Linked DNA regions of Homo sapiens: all the other regions are linked to region 4. Evidence: promoter capture Hi-C in 16 types of primary human blood cells and fetal thymus (Javierre and others, 2016). All regions are on one chromosome and are shown on one strand. Each heading gives the region's core, a stretch centred on a gene start or on the middle of the fragment in contact. The rest is flanking DNA. Distances are from core to core; before and after follow the strand shown. Region 1 overlaps LOC105373456 (a long non-coding RNA gene). Region 2 overlaps LINC00954 (long intergenic non-protein coding RNA 954). Region 3 overlaps WDR35 (WD repeat domain 35). Region 4 holds the start of OSR1 (odd-skipped related transcription factor 1). Region 5 has its middle 8.4 kb from the start of TTC32.

What was found. The method cuts DNA at HindIII sites, captures the fragments that hold promoters and counts their contacts. A CHiCAGO score of 5 or more calls a contact.
Region 1: a fragment that was not itself captured here is called in contact with the fragment with the promoter of OSR1 in region 4 in 2 of 17 cell types (endothelial precursors and M2 macrophages); the score reaches 7.7 in endothelial precursors.
Region 2: a contact is called between a fragment that was not itself captured here and the fragment with the promoter of OSR1 in region 4, in 4 of 17 cell types (naive CD8 T cells, total CD8 T cells, M1 macrophages and 1 more). The highest score is 6.8, in naive CD8 T cells.
Region 3: a contact is called between a fragment that was not itself captured here and the fragment with the promoter of OSR1 in region 4, in 8 of 17 cell types (total CD8 T cells, naive CD8 T cells, activated CD4 T cells and 5 more). The highest score is 10.3, in total CD8 T cells.
Region 5: a fragment that was not itself captured here is called in contact with the fragment with the promoter of OSR1 in region 4 in 9 of 17 cell types (total CD8 T cells, total CD4 T cells, neutrophils and 6 more); the score reaches 8.5 in total CD8 T cells.

Annotation. Positions count from the first base shown.
Region 1 is chr2:18,738,331-18,741,030 of GRCh38, reverse strand. The region is part of intron 4 of LOC105373456 (a long non-coding RNA gene); the gene reads right to left. Among named protein-coding and RNA genes, the nearest start is that of NT5C1B-RDH14, 150 kb to the right of the region's middle. The HindIII fragment of the contact is 3,221 bases long and covers 1-2,700 here.
Region 2 is chr2:19,873,864-19,876,563 of GRCh38, reverse strand. It overlaps LINC00954 (long intergenic non-protein coding RNA 954), which reads right to left. Exons shown (of 10, transcript NR_033875.1): 6 at 621-761. Among named protein-coding and RNA genes, the nearest start is that of LINC00954, 6.4 kb to the right of the region's middle. The HindIII fragment of the contact is 3,355 bases long and covers 1-2,700 here.
Region 3 is chr2:19,912,820-19,915,519 of GRCh38, reverse strand. It overlaps WDR35 (WD repeat domain 35), which reads left to right. Exons shown (of 27, transcript NM_020779.4): 26 at 1,243-1,483; 27 at 1,812-2,700. The coding sequence ends at 1,962. Among named protein-coding and RNA genes, the nearest start is that of TTC32, 12 kb to the right of the region's middle. The HindIII fragment of the contact is 181 bases long and covers 1,350-1,530 here.
Region 4 is chr2:19,357,212-19,359,911 of GRCh38, reverse strand. It overlaps OSR1 (odd-skipped related transcription factor 1), which reads left to right and starts at 1,289. Exons shown (of 3, transcript NM_145260.3): 1 at 1,289-1,571. RefSeq lists enhancers at 1,417-1,945, 2,611-2,700. The HindIII fragment of the contact is 8,359 bases long and covers 1-2,700 here.
Region 5 is chr2:19,892,248-19,894,947 of GRCh38, reverse strand. No RefSeq gene overlaps it. Among named protein-coding and RNA genes, the nearest start is that of TTC32, 8.4 kb to the left of the region's middle. The HindIII fragment of the contact is 3,471 bases long and covers 1-2,700 here.

The sequences.
Region 1 (2,700 bases), core at 191-2,690, 620 kb after region 4:
GCCCCTGAGTGTCCATTTCCTCCCTTTATTCTGAAATAACATGAATTTTAAGTATCACCAGAGATAAATTTACAATGATTCCAAAATGTTGTTTCTTTACATCTAGAATTATTTTGGCACTCACCCTGAGAAATTTGGTGGTGGTAAAATGTTGTCAGGATAGAGGAAGGGGGAGTTCGGATATATAGTGGGTCAACACAGGGTTCAAGCCATCCATCGGGACCTGACATCAAGCTGCAGAAGAATGAGCAGCGCAGGAGGGGCCTGGTGGACTGCCTGCTGGAGAAAAGTGACAGAGGGCCCAGCCAGCGGGCTTCTTGAGACAGCTGGAGGGCGGCCTGGGTCCAAAGCGCATGCCTAACCCATGACTTATGGAGGACCTGACTGGCCTGACCTCAGCATGATAAAGAATTGTGCTGGAACTGACCACAACCCTTTTTCTGGGCTTCAATTTCTGCCCTGAGGAGGGCCTCCACCACCCTCCCAGCATGATGAGGTTATGAACGATATCTGTGGATCTCAACCACAGGGAATGCTCTGGGAACATTCTCAGAACACACATCTTCAATCTCTTCCACTTGATTATCTAGTTTTGATTCCATCTACGGTTTGGGTGGATGGCTGAGAATAGAAAATCAGAGAGGGAAGTTTAACTCTGGTGAGTATAACATTCTGAAACATAGTTGTGAAACTGAATTTGATGTCTCTGCAGGGAGTTTGTAGGTACCCAAATACAGAAACGATCAAGCTAGTACTAACCAGTTGTTAGATAAATTCAATATTTCTGTTTATTTATTTCCACATCTTAACAGATAGATGAGTAATAATGTTAGTGTAAATGTTAATCATTTTAAATGTCCTTTTGGACATGTAATAAAAAGGTACTACGTGGAAATAACAAGCTATGAACTGTGCAGGGAGGTGTTGGCAAAACATATTATACTTAAGGCATTGCCCCTATTTTCCTGATAATTGCGATTTAGTTGAGAACAGACTGAAATGGATTTCATCACCTTGTAATGTTCCCATGAAAATCTTAGACCAGAAATGTAAAGCAGTGTGGGGTGACATGGAATAGGTAGAAGGTATCTAAGTGTTCTCACCATACAATAGACCTTCCTCAAATGCCTCCTTGGGTCTCCAAAGCATCTTAGTCTGTTCGAACCTCTGTAACAAAATACCATATACTGGCTGACATGTAAACAACAGAATTGTATTTCTCACAGTTCTAGAGGATGGAAGCCTGAGATCAAGGGATTTGGTCAGTTTGGTGTCTGGTGAAGCCCTTCTTCCTAGATGGCCATCTTTTCACTATAATCTCACATGGAAGAAGGAGTGAGGGATCTCTCTGGGGCTTCTTTCCAAAGGCACTAACCCCATTCATTAGGACTCCACCCTTATGACCTAATCACCCCCGAAAGGCTCCACCTCCTTATACCACACCATCAGTTTGGGGGTTGAGATTTCAACAAATGAATTTGGAGGAAACATAAACCTTCAGACCACAGCAACTAGGCATCTGAAGGAAAGGAAGAAGGAAGACAAATGTGTTCCAACGTCCAAGACACAAAGAGTTTTGCATCATAAAAACTGCATAGCATTCAGGGGACAGGGCAAAATGGCCAGGCTTGCCCCAGGTGGGGAGTCTAACAGGAGACCCATGCATGAAGTTGAAATCCCACTGGCCTATACTCTTTGTAGAAGGTTGAATGAGAAATAAACCACTGCCAAGAATAGAAGAGCAGGGAAACTTTACAGTCTGCATTGGCACTAGTGGAGGGGAAAAATTCATCCTGAGATTTTATAACCTCCACAGACCCTTCACAGGTTTGCCATCCAAATTTATGCCACCTGTGAGGTCTGAAAAATCTCAAATGGACAATTTAATTTAAAGTGGTCCTAGGCCAGCAGTGCCCCCCCAGGAAACTGGCAGAAGCAAACACAAATCATTTCTAGAGGAATAGTAATTCAACCCAGGTTTCAAAGAATTCCCACAGATAAAGTTCCAAGGAAAATGAGCAACTCACTGAAAAATAGAAAAACACACAGAAACAAGGCACCTTGAATGAAATGCAGGAGAGTCAGGTTACTGAATATATCAGATATTGTCATGACCAGAGAATATACAACTTTATTTACTTTGAAGAAATAGAGAAGCATAAAAATATAAACAAAAAATAAATGTAATTTTTAAATTGTAGGGATATTTTTTAAAGAAGCAAATAAAATATTAGAAATGAAGAGCTATAACGGTTGAAATTAAAAGCATACTGGATAGGTTAAATAGAAGATTAAAGTAGACAACATTGAGTGGCCTAGAAAATAGATTTAAAAGATAATGTGAAAAATGTGACCCAGAAAGACAAAGAGATAGAAAATAGGAAAAAGAAATTAAGAGCCAGAGCAGAGAGTGGGGAAAGCCAACAATTATTTAGTTATAGTTTTAGAAGGAGATAATAGAATGAAAATGAGCCAATATTTAATGACATTATGTTTGACAATTATCCAGACCCACGAAGGACACCAGTTCTCAGATCCAAGAAGCCCAATTAATTCGAAAAAGAATAAATATGAAATAAACTTCACACAAAGACATATTATAGTGAAGCCATGAGCATCAAAGAAAAATAGTCCTTAAAGCCAGTAGACAGCACGAACACATCACATAAATATCAATTAAACAGACGACTCATTTCACAT
Region 2 (2,700 bases), core at 54-2,553, 520 kb before region 4:
TTAAGAGGATGACACCTAGCAGAGCTATAGGAAGGAAGACAATATACCTGTTTTCTTACTTCCTGGAGCTGTCAAACCTATAGGCAGGCCTAGTCAAGGGGCAAAAGATGACTCACCTGGAACTTTCCTGTTTTTATATCCTTTCCCTGCTATCTCTACATTGGGTACCTAATGACCTTGCTGGGAAGAAGGCCATGTCTGATTTATACCAAGGTCTTGATACCACTGGCTACCCTTACTGTGACCTTGACAGGAGAAGTCTACCAAGGTTAATATTTCAGGGGTGGTGGCACCTGGGAGGGAAGACTGTATGGGGTACGTTGAGTCCTGTTCATGTCATTCCTGGCATGATTTAAGTGAAGTCTTACTGCTGATTGTATGAGCAGCCACCCATTCTCTGTATTACTTCATGAGTCTGCCAACAGCTGCTTCTATACTGGGTTTCCAATCCCAGGATGCAGACAAGCCACTTGTGAGGAGTTACTTCTGTGTAGCCCCAGTGGGACCCCCCTCCCATGGGAGGGGCTTCCACAGCTGTTGTTTGGACAGAGCCAGTGTAACTTGTTGGGTACCAAGACCATCCATGAGTCCAGGACCAGCACCTCACTTGGTGTACTTACCCACATCCTTGAAACTATATACCATTTCTGCAGGGTAGGAGAATGGTTTCCCATCTGGACCCACGCTCAGCATGTAGTTCACATGGAGGACATAGTGGGTTTCATTCCTGTTCATGTACTAGAAGACATCACAGGAACAGTCTGCAAGTGATGGATAGAGTAAAGTAATTCAAAATCTAAGCTGTTAGAACCTCAAAACATTTTGAGCCTTAAGGGAATGTGATTATAGGACCTGAGTCACATAAACATGCAGCTGTAACCTTTGTTTCTGATTACAGATTGGTCATTTTTCTTACCTACATGTTTTGTAAAATGTTGTAAATGACTAAAGGGTGCCAGGGAAGACCCCTTCCCTCTTAACTGTTGATATTCAGTATAGATTAACTTCCCTCTTTCCTCTTCCACACAAAGTCTTCATGGCTATGGGATTGTCTAAGATGGAATGTTAACTACTCTTAAATTGGAAAGGAAATGAAAACAAGCTGTAAAGAAAACAAACTTTATGGAAAAGAAAACAAACTAAATTGTAACTCATAAAACAGCCTTGTATAGAAAATGATAAAATCCTACTGAATTTCTTTATTTTCTGCCTATATAAGCAAGACCTTAACTTTTAACTTCGGAGCACTTATTCCATTTCTCTGAAGTCTGTTTCCTGTATGGTCATTCCCAGCTTTTTGCTTGAATAAACTCTTTAAAACTGGATTCTGATCCTTTCAATTATTTCAGGTTGACCATAGCTTAGAGCCATGCTGAGCAAAAGGCTGCCTGAATTTACGAAGCCACTTCTGGGTAGTGACCCTAGGACAGCCTCCTGCCCCCTTACAGCATCTGCTCAGGCTGGACAGCATAGCAGAGTAGGCCCTGTCCTTGTGTGCCCACCACCTGATGGGGGGCTTGAGACCTCAATCCAATGAGGATGTCCACTCTGTCACGTACTCGAGTGGCTACTGGTCTCTCCATTACAGTGTTTCAAACTGCTCCAGCCTGCCAAGCTAGATTAGACAAGACGTGCTCATGTAATTTAATGACCTGTGAGGGTGGGGTGGGTGAGAGCTCTGCCTATGAAGTATGTTACCTGCCCAGCAGGTAACACTATCTGGTAAGCTATCTGCTGGGCAGAGGATCTGTCCAAACTGACAGCTTCTTACCTGGACATGAGCACTGGCTGACCTCTTTAATCACTTCTGTGTCATCAAGGACACTTCAAGCACAAACCTTTGTGTTCCATCTGGGAGGGAAATTTCCCAAACCTTATACCCAGGTTCATCCACTTCTGAAATAGGATAGGGCACAGTTCTGATCCCCATTGCCACCAACTGGTCACCAGGGAAGACAGCTCCAAAGGTGATGTTGAAGAGTCTTGTCCCAGGGACCGTGTCTGTTGGAAGTTCTCATCTATTACAGCCTGTGGTTTACCGGCAACAGACTCTCCCAGTCTCCCTTAATTAAGTCCTCAGAGCTAAGAGCATCCTGTTTTCTCTTTCCTGTGAGGGGACTAGAAAGGACTAGGGGTGTCTGTGTCCTTTGATAATCTTCTCCCCTTTCCCCCCAAAGATGCTCTTGTCTCTTAGAGTCAATCCTTCTTTAGCCAGTAACTCAGGAACAAGGCCGAGTGAGGAACCACAGGAAGGATGTGATCAGCGAGGGCCATTTTGAGAACATAAGCCCATTCATAAACCCGAGGGCAACCCAGCAGCATCAGTCAAAAATTGCCAGCCATTCCTTATGCAAATAACCACTAACATACTAGCCTCACCATCCCAGGTAAGAGTGCAATTTATCCAGCTTTGTCCCTTTGTATGTTGGCTTAAGTAGCGGCTGAACACAAAAAAATAAGCTCGCATGTGAGGGCTAACCACAATCTTCTTTGTGTAGATTATAGGCTCATGGAGGTCAAAAGAATCCTTACTACTGTTGTCTCTCCTCAGGACCGAAAGTTATTCAATCACATTAGAGTCTGAATAATAGTTTTTTTTTTTCTTTTTTTCTTGGAGACGGAGTCTTGCTCTGTTGCCCAGGCTGGAGTGCAGTGGCATGATCTTGGCTCACTGCAAGCTCTGCCTCCCGGGTTCAAGTG
Region 3 (2,700 bases), core at 191-2,690, 560 kb before region 4:
CTTAAAAGAACAATTAGATCTTTAACTTGAGATGCTTCACCTACTAGGTGAAGATCTCTATATGCCTCATTTTTTTTTTTTTTGTCAGTGGTAAGACGATCTGAAACAATGTATGACCTGTAAATTATTACCCTTGAACCTATCATGCTTTGGATATGAAATTAGAGGATATTGTTTATTGTAACTGAGTGATTACATTTTATATACATTTTTTCTACTACACTTTGTTGTAAATACTTGACCCCAGAACCAGTTTATAGGATTCTGATTGTAAAACACATGAATATATTGTTTAAACTGGTTTTATGAAGTTTTTGATATACTATAACAAAGTATTTTTAAGATTCCAAGGTCTAGAGAAGAAAAAGATACAAATTGGTTATAAATCTAATATTAAATCTTAATATTAAATCTAATATTAAGTCTGCTTTTTTTATTATACTTTAAGTTCTGGGGTACATGTACAGAACGTGCAGGCTTGTTACATAGGTATACATGTGCCATGGTGGTTTGCTGCACCCATCAACCGTCATCTACATTAGGTATTTCTCCTAATGCTATCCCTCCCCTAGCCCCCCACCCCCAACAGGCCCAAGAATACAGTGCATTTTAAAGAAAGATTTTTTCATCTCCAGTATAATTGCAAATAAGATGTTGTAACTTGAATTGTCTCAACTGACAACTTGGAGACTCATTTTCACTTTTTCACAAAATCCTATTGTTTCAGTGAGACAAATGACAAAAGCAGTAATACAAAAGCAATAATCTGTCCAAAGAAACACAGAGAAAAGAACATATTATTTTATACTGTTTTGCTTATATTGTTTTGCTTTTTTTTTAACAAAAGGAAACATGGTATTATCTTGCAGTTTATGACTAACATAGTATAATACTCATTTGCTTTTTATGAAGTGCCACAGAAATTTCTAACATAAATTGAAGAAAATGTGGATGTTTTGACACCAAAATTTTGTGTGTGTGTGTGTATTTCTGAGCTGGCACAGCCATGTGCAGCATTTGGTGGTGGTTCTTTTCATAGGATGAGCTGTTAGCCAGCTTCACAGAACCTTGGATATCATGTAGCCTAGTTCCTCCTCTTGGTGCTCCCATCTCTCAACACTGTTTGCTTTCAGTTCGTTCATGCAAGTTCAATGAAATCACCTTAACTTAGATTCTTCTTTTGCATGTTCATGATATCATAATAATTATTTTAAAAAACCCCAATTGCCCTGTTTTTCTTAGCTCTTCACCTGAAAGACTATGAAGACATCATCCCTCCTGTGGAGATCTACTCTCTGCTAGCACTCTGCGCATGCGCCAGCAGAGCCTTTGGGACTTGTTCAAAAGCTTTCATTAAACTTAAATCTTTAGAGACCCTCAGTTCAGAACAGAAACAGCAGTATGAAGACCTTGCTTTAGAAATCTTCACCAAACATACTTCAAAAGATAACAGAAAACCTGAATTGGACAGCCTTATGGAAGGGTAGGCTAATTTTAATTAGTGGATGCCATTCTATCTTATTAGAAGCTTGGATTTCTAGATGTACAATGTTTAATGTAGGAATTAAAGCACTGAATTTTGAAGCAATTCACATTAACATTATACCCTATTTTATTTATTTTTACAAGTGTATTCATGCTTTATTTTGTCATTGTAAGAAAGGTTTTTTCTTGAAATAACTTTTTTAAATGAAAGTATTTGATGTTCATCTCAGAAGTTTTATTCTTTAGGTTTTTTTTAAGTGTATTAAATAAAGTTAGACTAATGAGAAGTTTTAAAGTATAATGAATTGTTTCTCCCCGTTTTACAGTGGAGAAGGGAAACTGCCAACATGCGTTGCCACAGGAAGCCCAATCACTGAGTATCAATTCTGGATGTGCAGTGTATGCAAACACGGTGTCCTTGCTCAGGAAATAAGCCACTACAGCTTCTGCCCCTTATGCCATAGTCCAGTGGGATAAAGGAATGATAAACTGTATATAACTGTAAAATATATGTAGCATATATACATGGCTATATGCTGTATATGTAATAAGGTTTATTTCTGTGAGTTTTGTATGAAAATCAGCCTCATTATTTATAGTTGAATTTTTGCACAAAATATATGTTAATAAAATAATTTTTATGGCAATACAACTGTGAAATAATAAGGCCGATTTTCATATAAATGTATGAAAATCAACCATGTTTTCTCTCACCCTCTCTCTTTTGTTTATCTTGTTTTTGGTTACATGATACCATGGAAATATTCCAAATAAATTTTTTTCTCACAGTGTCAAGGTAACTGAATTCATTAAAAAATCTTGAAGGGAGTAGGGAGTGGGGGAAGCATGGGAGTGGGGCAAAGTTGAATTTAGAGAATTTTTATAACCCATGTTACAAGGAAGTTAAACAATTGTAATAATGAAATGAGCTTTCTCTATAGCCATATTTAATTAAATAAGTGTCGAATGTCTTCTTTATTGTATTTTCAGAAGTGAGGCGATGGCATTTTAAGACATTTTTTACAATCTGAATTGTTTCTAATAGCCCTATTCTTCTATTTTAAAACCTGTCCTTTTAGTCTCATTTAAGAGATGGCATTTGGAATTTACACTTTCATATGATTGTGCAGAAAACTTGCCTCTATTTATAATGAAGATAACTTAAACAGAAATATCCATTTTGTAGTTATAGCTTCTGTTGAAACATTGTCACTA
Region 4 (2,700 bases), core at 40-2,539:
ATTACAACCTTCTTCACCTCCCAAGAAAATCAGATTAGCTTTGCAAACCAAAGCTGGAGATAGCAGAAGCTCCTCGGGAGAGAAGCAGTACAGTACTTAGGGACCCACGGAATCTAGGATCCAGCTCCAAGAGTCACTCAGCAGCAACTCTGGGGCAAAGGCAGAGAGTGCAGTTGTGTGATCTGGACCCACACAAGTCCCAGGAAACCAGTGACTCCTCCTTGCCAAACCCAAGGCCTGGAAGGGTATTCCAGAAAGGCATTAGGGAGGGATTGGGCTGGGGTCAGCCGGAGGTCAGCTTTCAGAGATGGGTAGTCAAGGGGGTGATGGTACCCTCCATAATGCCTAGGCAATGAAGATAGAATTTTTAATGTCCAGAACTCTGATTCCTTTCCGATTAAAAACTCCACCTGAACCAGCTCCTTGACTCAGAGGCCCTGGAACTGACAACTTTGCAGCTCGTCTAGCTTGCCAGTGCGGCTCTCTAAACTCTGATCCATCCTAAAACAAATATGTAAGTAGAGAGTGCCACTGTGCATTGGGGTGAAATCTCAGAGAGTTCTGGGCCCCAGGAAAATAACTTTCCTGACCTCCTTTCCCTACTCTTTGTTCTTTCTACTGGACTCCAGAACTTAGGGTCTGGGGTCAACCATAAGCACTCAGATGTTACAGCTCGCTTGCTTCGGTGACCCTGGCCCTCCCGCACCAGGAATTAACCAGCGCTGCCTGGGTTAACACCCTGGCCCCGAGCACGCTTGGATAGCCAGGAGCTGCTCCACACTCGGGGTCTGCCGCCTCTGGAAAGAGATTCTGGGAGGAGATGCGACTCTGTCAGGCGCCAAAGTGCGTTGAAACCCAAGCCGCGGTGTGGGGATCCCGGTGCACAGAGCTACTGCCCCTCCCTCCCTCCTCCCAAAGAGCACGGGCTGTGTCCTAGGAGCCCAAGTATAGGACCTCGAAACGTGCGGTGCCAGCCCGCTCTCATCTGCTAGGGACCGTTTCCTCCAGTGCGCCAGGCGTGCCGCTCTGGACCTAAAAAGGCAGCAGGGGTCGCGCGGGACTGAAGAGGAGGGGACGCAGGTTGGGAGAGGCCGGGTCCAAGCGAGAGCAGCTGCCAAAGTCTGCTGCCCGGGTCAGCAAAAACTTTGTCTTTCATTGCGCAGGCGCAGGGCAGGGTTGGGGGGCAGGGGAGGGAGGGGAGGAATCCTGAGGCAAGGGGCGGGGGTGGGGGTGGTGGAGGAGGGAGGGTGGTGGATTAAAATAAGTAGGCGGCTCGGTGCTAAGGGATGAGTGAGTCGGAGCTCGGCCTCTCCCCGGCACGTTCTCAGCTGCTCCTGGTTCAGACCCAGCGAGGGAGCCGCGAGCGAGGCTCACCGTCCCCGGCGTGCAGGATCCGGGGCTGCTGAGCGCTCGCTCCCGCGTGTCCGGCGCTTGGAGTCCCCGCGGCAGGAGAGGAGTCGGGACACTAGAGCTCCAGGGGCGCCTGTGGGCTCCAGGGCCTCCGGCTTCCCCAGTCCCCTTCAGCTAAAGCCCCAGAGACGTGCTCAGCCCCAGGACCTCTGCGGAACAAGGTAATTGCAGTCCTGGGCGCCTGGGCTCAGCAAAGCGAATGCGGGCAGGACTCCCAGGTTCCTTGTCACTGCTCGGCGGGTGCCTCCTCTCTCTCAATGCCCCTGAAGGAAGCTCTTGCCAAACGAATGCTGTAGGACTTTTGTGAAAGTGAGAGCAGGGTGGTTGGGGGTGCTGCCTCAGGACTTCCTGCGCGGGGTCCTCGGCCTCTGACCGCTGGGGATTAAGGGGGGCGGGCCTCCGCTACTGCGGCCAGCCCGCCCGGCTCTGCGGAATCACGGGCGAGGTGCCCACGGACTTTGAAAGTCAATCTGTGGGCCCCCTTTAAGAAACCAGAGCAACTTCAGCGGGCACAAACTTTCCTGAGACGCGCTCCTAGCTCTGGCTGACGCCCAGGTTGACGAAGAAGGAAGGGAGAGGGAGTGAATGGCCACAGCCGCAGCCGACCGCGCCAGGGACAGGTGCATGCCCCAGCTCGGTAGCGCTTTCGTTCAAGTTTGTCTTTTGAGGAGTTGCGCTCTAGTATGAGGCCGCCTAGACCCGAGAGCGCAGGGCTGCGAGTCTGAACCCCGCCTTGCACTCGCGCTCTAACTTAGGGATATTCTCCATAGGATGATTGCTCTGTGTCGTCAAGGCCTGGAGCGGAACCCTTGATTGTCCTGGTGCAGGGAGGCAATGCAGTGGGCGCAAGCACTGCTTTCCAATTCGAGACCCACACACAGCACTAGTGGAAACTCTGTGGAGCCCTAGGGTCTCCGGGCTGGGGACAGGAAAAGTTCTGTTACTCCCCTGACTGTCCGCTAATCCAGCCGTCAGGAGAGAAAGAAGGGGGAAAGGGGTGAAGGGCTGCCTGCTGAACTAATTTCTCCTCGGAAATGTCTCGGAGAAGAATGAAAAACCACGTTTAGTCCTTTTTCAGCAGCTCAGGCAGTAGCGGGTTGGGTTCTCAATGTGTAAAGTAGCCGCAAGGGTTTCTTTGTTGCCACAATTTGGTAAATTTCACCCAGGCTAAGAGCTGCGCATTGGCTCTGCGGAACAAAACCACGTGCAAGGCTAGGTGTCCCAGGTTCACAACCCCCTAGGGAAGAGAAGCGCTGGAGGGGACTAGCAGCGACCGGCGGCGTGTAGATG
Region 5 (2,700 bases), core at 72-2,571, 540 kb before region 4:
TTTTCTACTAGAAAAGTAACTTATGTTTTCTAATTTTTTCCTTTGTAAAAACAAAAGAATTGTGGTTTGTTATAAGGTTTCTCTTTCACAAAGTGAGGTAAGATAGGATAAAATGGATTTAAGTTACTTTTGAGTTTAGAATATTACTCCTAACAGTAGTTGAAAAGTGTGGAGCTATTTGTTTTTTTCTGAAATTTGGAACTGAATAAAACCCTTTACTTTATGATAGCAAAGCAAATATCCAAGTTAGTCTTTAGTCATTATCTATTTGCTCTTTTGCTCTGTCATTTGCTCTTTTGCTCTGTCTTTTTTGGTTTTCTGTTTTTCACTGGCTTCTCTACCCTCTGAATCCTAAATGTAGCCTTGGCTCCCTGTCATTTTGTAGGTCTTAAATCTTTCTCCGTGGGCATGATATATTTCAACCCCACCTACCACTCAGCGTTTACACTGATTCTTGTCTCAATGTCTCCCTTTCTGCTAAGTCTAGCCCCCTTAAAAATTTAACTCAGAAGTAAACAGTTTGTATATAAACCGTAATAGCATGTTTTTTTTTTTTCTTTTTTGAGACAGGGTCTCACTCTGTTGCCCAGGCTGGATTGCAGTAGCTTGATGACAGCTCACTGCAGCCTTGACCTCCCTGGGCTCAGGTGATCCTCCCACCTCAGCCTCCTAAGTAGCTTGGACTATAGGCATGCGCCATCATGCCCAGCTAATTTTTGTATATTTTGTAGAGATAGGGTTTCACCACATTGTCTAGGCTGAGCATGAATGTTTACTGTGCTAGTTTTTTGTTTTATTGAGAATAATTCATATATCATATAGTTTACCCATTTAAAGTGTACAGTTCAATGGTTTGAAGGTATATTCAGAGTTGCTGCACCATTTTTTCAAGGTTTTTGGGTATACTGGTCTTGCATGCAAACTGCACTTAAAGTTACAACACAGAAAAAATTTTATGCAAATTAATGACTAAACATGAGAGTGTTTCAAAAACAACAGCTCATGCACAAAACAGATCTAAGAGTCCTAAAAAGTGCTGCTTCTGGCTTCATTCAAATATGTGGCACGATTCCACTTTGTCTCATGTGATGCTCTCTAACTAGAAATGTGTTGAGTAAATCAGACGGCTCATCTCTGCCTGAAATGGATGCTGAATTTAGTGTGTTTAGGTTAACATATTGCTACGCTAAACAAATTGTTGACAAATGTGTAATAGCTTTTCAAGAGCATAGTGAAAAGTTGACTGAATATTTGCTATTTACGCTAGGTGTGTAATTTTAACAATTTCTATATAAATTCACATTTTGGTGTTTTCTGTGTTTCTAAAAAATGTGACAGTAAATTGTGAGAACAGAATGCCCATAATTTAAAATGGCAGTTGGTAAAAGAGGGAGAGTGAGATTTGTTAAATTTCAAATCTAATGTTAAGGGACTTCAAATGACACCATTTCACTCTACAGAAAGGAAAGAAGGATGAGTATAGTCTAATTTCTGTTTTTGAAAAAACAAAGCAATTGATACAATTAAAACACATAGTTTATCCTTTTTAAAATCACAAGAAGGTAAAAGAACACGTCATGTAGCAAGACAAATTATAAAACAAGCAACCTGTAAGGAAGCCCCGAAACTGAAATTATGAATGTGGATATAAAAGTAAAATAGGAACACAACAGTGTAATCCCAGGTTTATATGTGTCATCACAAAATCATAAATATAGCAGTTTAGTGAAGGTCTTATTCTGCATAGAGGATGAAGCTAAGAAATTGAGTAACTTGTGCAAGGTTGTGTCCAAAATCCATATAAATATTTGAAACTGCAATGAGTATCAATGTTTTTGCTGTTGGCATCAACTCACAGCAGATATGTGGACTTTTTTTTTTTTTTTTGGTCCTGATAAAAAATTTAAATTGCTCATAAAATGTTTTAGTACCCAGCAAAGTGAGTATCAGAATAATATTAAAGTATGTTTTTAAATAATGGAATGTTATTGCAATGCCCACATTGCTTGGTGGTCATTTTTCTTATTAAAAACAGACACAAAAGATGGTGAAAAGCAGATTAATTTTAAGAGCAAACTCCATTTGGAAACTAGATAGCTACAGCTGCCAATATGTAAATTTTTATCTTATGTCAAAAAAAGCATCCAATACGTAGAAATAAGGCAAAAGGATTTGCATGGCATTTCAATATCATACCAGCAGACCCACTCAACGACTGTTTAATTCTTTTGGGGAGCCATGTGTGTGCCTTTCTTTGATTTTCTATTTACTCTTGATTAGGGCCCAGACTCTGGGAGGTTGCATGTAACTTGCAGATTTTTGTCCAGAGGAGATGCAAATGAACTCTGGTAGAAAAGATAACCCCAAAAGTTTTGGCTGTATTGCCCTGAAGAACGTTAACCAGTTTTGTATTTAACCTAGCAACTTTATTCCCAAATTCTTTCTTCATGGACCATAAGTACTCAGTTATTCTAATGCTCTTTTACCACTCTGGCGGTTCTCTATTAATGAGTTAAACATTTTTCACATTTTCATTCTATATTCTTATAAGAATCGTGCTTAACTTCAAAAAACATTTTGGCCCTACTACTGAAGAAACAACAAAAAACCCTTGGTATGGTTTGGCTGTGTCCCCACCCAAAATCTCATCTTGAATTGTAATCCCCATAATCCCCACATGTCAAGGGAGAGACCAGGTGG